2 separate regions of the Homo sapiens genome follow, and region 1 is linked to region 2. Evidence: promoter capture Hi-C in human tissues and cell types (Jung and others, 2019). All regions are on one chromosome and are shown on one strand. The core of a region is centred on a gene start or on the middle of the fragment in contact, and the rest is flanking DNA. Distances in the headings are between cores, read along the strand shown. Region 1 overlaps LINC02069 (long intergenic non-protein coding RNA 2069). Region 2 holds the start of ABCF3 (ATP binding cassette subfamily F member 3).

The links. The method cuts DNA at HindIII sites, captures the fragments that hold promoters and counts their contacts. A contact is called where the count stands out against the background at its distance.
Region 1: a contact is called between a fragment that was not itself captured here and the fragment with the promoter of ABCF3 in region 2, in 2 of the 25 tissues and cell types used here (aorta and pancreas).

Annotation. Positions count from the first base shown.
Region 1 is chr3:184,766,844-184,770,307 of GRCh38, forward strand. All of the region lies in intron 1 of LINC02069 (long intergenic non-protein coding RNA 2069), which reads right to left. Among named protein-coding and RNA genes, the nearest start is that of LINC02069, 4.6 kb to the right of the region's middle. The HindIII fragment of the contact is 4,547 bases long and covers 1-3,464 here.
Region 2 is chr3:184,184,619-184,188,410 of GRCh38, forward strand. It overlaps ABCF3 (ATP binding cassette subfamily F member 3), which reads left to right and starts at 1,581. Exons shown (of 21, transcript NM_018358.3): 1 at 1,581-1,662; 2 at 1,889-2,036; 3 at 2,178-2,257; 4 at 2,779-2,825; 5 at 3,046-3,143; 6 at 3,243-3,365; 7 at 3,523-3,789. The coding sequence starts at 1,590. RefSeq lists enhancers at 374-1,088, 1,566-1,885. The HindIII fragment of the contact is 10,900 bases long and covers 1-3,792 here.

The sequences.
Region 1 (3,464 bases), core at 98-2,597, 580 kb after region 2:
CTATGCAGCCTTCAAAGCCCATGACAAATGTCACCTCTCTCATGAAGCCCTCCTTGATTCCATCATTGGAAAATGAGCTTCTCCCTCCTGGGATGTCTCACAGCACCTGGCATACAGGTCTCCACACAAGCAGTTCTCTGTGTGTTGTGGCAGTGGTGTCAAGATTTGGATGTTTGTGAAACTACAAAGACTGCAGGATTCGGCAATACCACTTGTGGGCATGTGTGTGCGTGTGTGTGTCTGTACGTGTGTGTGTGTGTGCGTGTGTGTGTGTTGGTATGAGGAGTGAGCACAGCTACATAAACAATTGTATGTCAGAAAGGGATGAGACACTTACTAGGTTTAGAGTGTGTCAATCACTTCAGTTCTGCCAATGAACAGAGAGCCAGATGTCTCTCTCCAAGGATAGAGAACACTCACAATAAAGACTATAAACACACTTGGGGGAAGAAAGAATGGAGAGAGGGAGGAAATGAACAAGTATGTATGGCTCATTTACTATAGTCCAGGCGCTGCGTTGGAGAGGAAATTTCATGTGAGCAGTGTGCTCACTTAACCCTCACCGTAGCCGAGAGGTAGGAATCTGCCCCTGTTTTGTGGTTGAGTACTGCTTTGGGCCAGGTTCTCAAAACGCAGGCTCTGGGTGTGCGGGGTAACTGGGAGCACTCATGGGCTGTCGGCATGCAGGGTAACTGGGAGCACTCACGGAGCAGCCCCGCTGGGGAGTCATGAAGGCAGGCTGGCACAGGAAAGGCTGAACGGCAGCGAGGCTGGTGTGCTGAAGCTTGGGTGGCCCTTTTAAGATGTGCCCCCATTGAGGCGATGGGATCCTTGTGCCCTCTGGGAGGGGGAAACCCAGGCAAGACGGCTCCCTTCAGCCAAGGGTGGTTCCTGGGGGGGACAGCACCCACTACACGTACACTGTGGATTAGAGAAACGCGTGCCCCCGCCACATGCAGACTGTCAGCAAGTGGAAGGGGCAGGGATGGAACTCCCTTCCACTAAGGGGGCTTCACCAGATTCTCCTGTTTCAAGGAGAAATAGAGTTTGGAAACCTCTCATTTTATAAACGAGGACACTGAGGCACAAAGCAGGGTGGTTGGTGCCTTGCCTAAAGTCATACAGATTTCATGTAACAAATTGTGCTGGTTAGGTAGGGGAGGATGCAGAGCTCACAGCACAGGTGAATACCTCCATCGCAAAGGCTGAACCAAATGCCCCGTTAAATCAGGAGACCTGCCTCTTTCAGCTTTGTTTTCTGAAGAAATCCCTTCCCAGGGGTTGAAGCCCTCAGGCTGTGTCCCGAGGCCTGGTGTGGCCTTCAGTCCATCTCCAGAAGACAGCATAGGCCAGGCGCGGTGTTTCACGCCTGTAAGCCCAACACTTTGGGAGGCTGAGGAGGATCACCTGAGATCAGGAGTTCGAGACCAGCCTGGCCAACATGGTGAATCCCCGTCTGTGCTAAAAATACAAAAATTAGCTGGGCGTGTTGGCGGGTGCCTGTAATCCCAGCTATTTGGGAGGCTGAGGCAGGAGAATCGCTTGAACTCGGGAAGCGTGGGTTACAGTGAGCTAAGATCACACCACTGCACTCCAGCCTGGGCGACAAGAGCAAAACTCCATCTCAAAAAAAAAAGAAGAAGAAGAAGAAGTCAGCCTGGTCACTCTTTGCCCATTGTGCACTGTCAGCTATGAGCGGAAGTCTGCACCTAGAAAGCTCCCAGGAAAAGAATGCTCTTCCCTCTTTCTGAAAGATTTCAGGTAGTTCTGGTATCAAATAATAGCAATGAGAAAGGCAGGTGTGGACTCTTTTGTTACTGATATTTTCTGTTACTGTCTGATTCTTAGTCACATTTTGCTTTTATTTTTATTTTTTTGAGAAGGAGTCTCGCTCTATTGCCCAGGCTGGAGTGCAGTGGTGTTATCTTGGCTCACGGCAACCTCCACCTCCCGGGTTCAAGTGATTCTCCTGCCTCAGCCTCTTGAGTAGCTGGGACTACAGGCACCTGCCATCACATCCAGCTGATTTTTGTATTTTTAGTAGAGACGGGGTTTCACCATGTTGGCCAGGCTGGTCTCGAACTTCTGACCTCAAATGATCTGCCCATCTTGGCCTCCCAGAGTGCTGGGATTACAGGCATAAGCCACCGCGTCCGGCTCTTACTTGTACTTTGGAAACATTGGTAGTGGGATCCAAGTGTGATCTTTAAAATAGTTAACAATCAGGTAAACCCCCAGGACACCGGCGTGGATGCTGGCAGTATGCTGCACCAGCGCATGCCCACTGAACATTACACCTGCTGGGCCCTAGAGGACAAGGTTGTGGTTCTCCCTGAGTGCCGCATGCTGGGGAAGAACCCTGGGAAGGGATTTCTTCAGAAAACAAAGCTGAGAGAGGCAGATCTCTTGATTTAACGGGGCATTTGGTTCAGCCTTTGCGATGGAGGTATTCATCTGTGCTGTGAGCTCTGCATCCTCCCATACCTAGCCAGCACAATTTGTTACATGAAATCTGTATGACTTTAGGCAAGGCACCAACTACCCTGCTTTGTGCCTCAGTGTCCTCGTTTATAAAATGAGAGGTTTCCAAACTCTATTTCTCCTTGAAACAGGAGAATCTGGTGAAGCCCCCTTAGTGGAAGGGAGGCAAGTGGGCCGGGCGCAGGGCCCCCTCCCCTGCTTTAGCTGGAGCGGCTCTCTTGTATTTGTTTATGCCTCCATACGGTTTCACTTAAACCCAGCATTCCTCAACTAAAAACAAAGCTTGGGAAGCGCCGAGCTGCATGTGGTATCTGAGGGCCCCTACTCACGGCTCTGCCATGCTGAGCTGTGATTAGGCGAATGCGTGAGTGAACGAATGAATGAATGAACAGACTCTGTGTTCCTAGCTAACAGAGGCTGGTTCCTGGTCACACCTGTTCTTGGGACAGATGGCCAGCAGTCTTGGGTAGTTCAGAAATCTACACAGGGCTAGACTGGACGCTCTCCCGACATCCCATCAAGTGTAGGGTTCTGTCTGTCTCCGCTGTCGCCACTGACAAGGCCTCCTCCCTTTGGGCATCTCGGATGCCACCAGGTATGAAGTGGAAAGTCATCAGCGGCGAGTCGCCCTGTGTTTGTCTTCTTCGGCTCTCCCGATGTGTTGACTCAGCTGAAAAAAGATACTGACAACAGCACCCCGAGTCACCGGCAGGCTTGGCAGAAGATTCACTGGGTTTTCTCGGTGTGTGTCCCGGGGTGTGGCACCAGGTCTGGCTCACGTCAGTTTTCTTCCATCACAGGGAAAGGGCTTCCAGTTTTGGCCTTGTCCTCCCTCCCACCACCCCTACTTCCTCCCTTCCTTGCCTCCTTCCTTTCCTTCCTCTAAGGCAGTGGTTCTCAACCTTGGCTGCACGTTGAAATTGCCCAGGGAGACTTAAAAATTACTGATGCCCAAAGATTCTGATTTCATGGTTCGAGGTATG
Region 2 (3,792 bases), core at 331-2,830:
ATAACATAATGGACTGGGCGCGGTGGCTCACACTGTAATCCCAGCACTCTGGGAGGCCGAGACGGGTGGATCACCCGAGGTCCGGAATTCGAGACCAGCCTGACCAACATGGGGAAACCTCGTCTCTACTAAAATTACAAAATTAGCCGGGCGTGGTGGTGCATGCCGGTAATCCCAGCTATTCGGGGGCTGAGGCAGGAGAATCGCTCGAACCCAGGAGGTGGAGGCTGCGGTGAGCCAAGATCACGCCACTGTACTCCAGCCTGGGCAACAAGAGCGAAACTCCTTCTCAAATTAAAAAAAAAAAAAAAAAGAATATAATGAATCTCCATGTCTCATCACCCAGCTTCAACTATGATCAATGCGTGGCCAGTTCCTTAATATCACATCCAGTTTGTGTTCACTTAACCAGGTGTCTTATCAAATTTTTCCAGATAAGGTCCATTGTGGTTGGTTAATGCTCCTCAAATTTTAAAAATTGATGTTTCCCTTCAGGTCTTGCAATTTTGTGGAAGAAACCAGAGTTCTGTAGTTTACCACATCAGAATTTGCCTGTTGTCCCCATGAAGTCACTTAACATATTCCTCTTTACCTGTATTTCCTGTAAAATGGTTCAATATCGGGATTGATGCCTCATGATGGCAATGTTTAATCCAAAGGGATGAATGGGTAATAATGTAATTTTCGGTGCCACTTTTAGAGACCAATTGGAGGAATATTCACGTTAAATATAAAGCAGTAGCATCATTTTGGAGGAAATTCCTAACTTCCCGAGGGAATCGGTGAAAGGAAATAGCCTTTTATTGGCATTTATTGAGTGCAGAGAAGTCTGCTCAGGGTGTAGGTAGGGAATAATTTATACAGGCCACGTTGTCCTGGTTTTCTTGCCCTTTGGCGGTGGATTTGGTCGTGCCCTGGGGTGGTGGAAGAACTGAATGGGCTTAATTCACAAAGGTCGGCTGAATTACACAGTGAAAAGGCGGTCGCGGCGGGGAGGCGGGTGGCGCTGGCCACCAGGCTGAGAAGCCCGTAGGGTCTGGGGACCCGCGAAAGCAAAGCACTGAGCAGGGGGCTTCTGAGAGTCAGGGACCGGGGTGAGTCAGCAAAGCTCTGGGCAGGCTCCAAAATGGGCCTGACTGGGTACGCACCAGCAGCAGACGCGCCTCGAGGGAGCGCATAAAACCTGGCAAAGCCAAAGTGCTTTATCAGCCGCCTGCCTCTTGGGAGGCTCCCACCCGCCAGACCACGGGTGCCTCGCGGCCCCGATAAACCTTGAGCTCCCAGCCTTTGCCCCACCCCTCGCTCCCGGAACTCCACCTCCCAGAAGGCAGCGAGAACCGCACATGTGGCTAATCTTTCAGCGGAAAAGGTGTCGCGCACGCGCAGAGAGCGCGGCTCCGGCGCAGACTCGGCGCCTCTCCTCAAGGCCCCGCTCGCCCCGCCCACCGGGCTCTGCGCACTCCGCTCCTTTCCTGCGTCACCGCTACACATGCGCCTTGCAAGGAAGGGCGAGATTTCGGGGGCAGGGCGGGGGGCGGGCCTAGGCCGGGGTCTCACAGCGACTGCGCGGACGGGTTCCTGAGTGGAACATGGCGACTTGCGCCGAAATCCTGCGGAGCGAGTTCCCCGAAATTGACGGACAAGTCTTCGACTACGTGACCGGTAAGCAGAACTGAATCGGCCGGCTGGGGAGACCGAAGTGGAGGCCGGGGGAAAGTCTAAGCGAGCGTCGTGCCCGGGACTGTTGCCAGGCCTCTCCTCTGCATGACCTCTTGTCCCGGGGGCTGGTTGGGTCTGGAGCCTGGACTGGGGCCTCTGTCTGGGGTCTGAAACTGCTTGTGTGTCCACCCTACCCGATACCTTCCTCGTTCTACCACGCCCTGCCCAGGCGTCTTGCACAGCGGCAGCGCGGACTTCGAGTCTGTGGATGACCTGGTGGAAGCTGTAGGGGAACTATTGCAAGAGGTGTCCGGGGACAGCAAGGATGACGCGGGCATCAGGGCCGTGTGCCAGCGCATGTACAACACTCTGCGTCTGTATGTGCCAGGGAGTAGGGGTTGATGGGGGCGAAGGGACGGCGAACGGTCCGGAGACAAGAGGTGGGGGAGGAAGATCTGATGGCCATAGAGCTTTTCCCTCAACTCCTAACTCTGCGCTTTCTATCCCTACCCACATAGGGCTGAGCCACAAAGCCAGGGAAATAGCCAGGTGCTACTGGACGCCCCTATCCAGTTGTCAAAGATAACGGAGAACTACGGTGAGAGTGAGGGGAGGTTGAACTAACTGCCCCCCTGTGCTTTTCTCCGCCCCCAACCATCTGCTGCCTGCAGCTTAGGGCTCCTACGTCTTTTCCACAGGACAAGGTTGTAGGAGCTAGTTGATGTCTTTACCGAGGGCAGAAGAGCCCATGATGGGGGTGGGGAGGAGGTTGGAGGGTTCTCCCTCCAAGCTCTTGGGTAGGATAGGAAGCATAAGAGCCTGGAGCTGGACAGACTTGCTTTCACCCCCAGTTTTGCAACTTGCTAACCAGCTGCATGATCTTGTAAGAGTTGGTTATCTGTCCCCAGCCTTGTCTATGCCTCTGTATCCTTCTACGTGAGTTTTGTTTTGTTTTGTTTTGTTTTGTTTTTAGTGCAGGGAAGATAATAGCCATCTATCTGCAGTATTATAAGGTTTTGTAGAAAACATCTGTGTCTGTGCCTGGTTCCTATTAGTCACTCAAAATGTTAGTTTCCCTTCCCTCAGGGAGAAGGTGACTGCTTTTCTTATCGCTTACAGACTGTGGAACCAAACTTCCAGGACTGCTAAAGAGGGAACAGTCCTCGGTGAGGAGGAGGAAGCAAGGGAGGGGACTGTCTGTGATGGGGTTGGGAGTTGACTGTCTAATTGGAGTATCTTTTGGGGGGATTTCTGACTATGTCTTTTCCTGAGCCTTTGAGTCTGTTCATCATGGGTAAGTTAAGAGGGTTTACTCGAGATGTTCTCTCTTGGGGTTCCTTTCTGAGCCTACACCCGAGAGTGAAGTCGATGTGTTTGGACCCTTAGACAGTGAATGCAAAGAAGTTAGAGAAGGCCGAGGCTCGACTTAAGGCAAAGCAGGAGAAGCGCTCAGAGAAGGACACGCTCAAGACCAGCAACCCTCTGTGAGTGGGGGAAGCATGGCTCAGAAGAGAGCAGAGCAGCTTTTGCCTGGACAGAAGGTGGTGGGGAGCACTAAGAGCTGTCCATTTCTCCCTTTAAAGAGTCTTAGAAGAGGCATCAGCCAGCCAGGCAGGCAGCAGAAAGGAGAGTCGGTTGGAATCATCTGGCAAGAACAAATCCTATGATGTGCGAATTGAGAACTTTGATGTGTCTTTTGGCGATAGGTGAGGGAATAGTGGTGGCAGGGGTTGGCTTTCTTTTTCTAATTAGAGGACAATTTGGAGAGGTGAAACGGGGCTATAAACAATGTTAGGTTTGTCATTAAACTTGCTGTGCACCTATTTCTAGAGCATCTTTGGTCTCCTTTCTCCACTCCTGCAGAGTACTGCTGGCTGGAGCGGATGTGAACCTGGCATGGGGCCGCCGTTACGGGCTGGTGGGGCGGAATGGGTTGGGGAAGACAACGTTACTGAAGATGCTGGCCACCCGGAGTCTGCGGGTTCCAGCCCACATTTCCCTGCTGCACGTTGAGCAAGAGGTTGCTGGAGATGACACTCCTGCCCTGCAGAGTGTGCTGGAGAGTGACAGTGTGCGAGAGGATTTGCTACGGAGGGAGCGGGAGCTCACTGCCCAGATTGCTGCTGGCAGGTG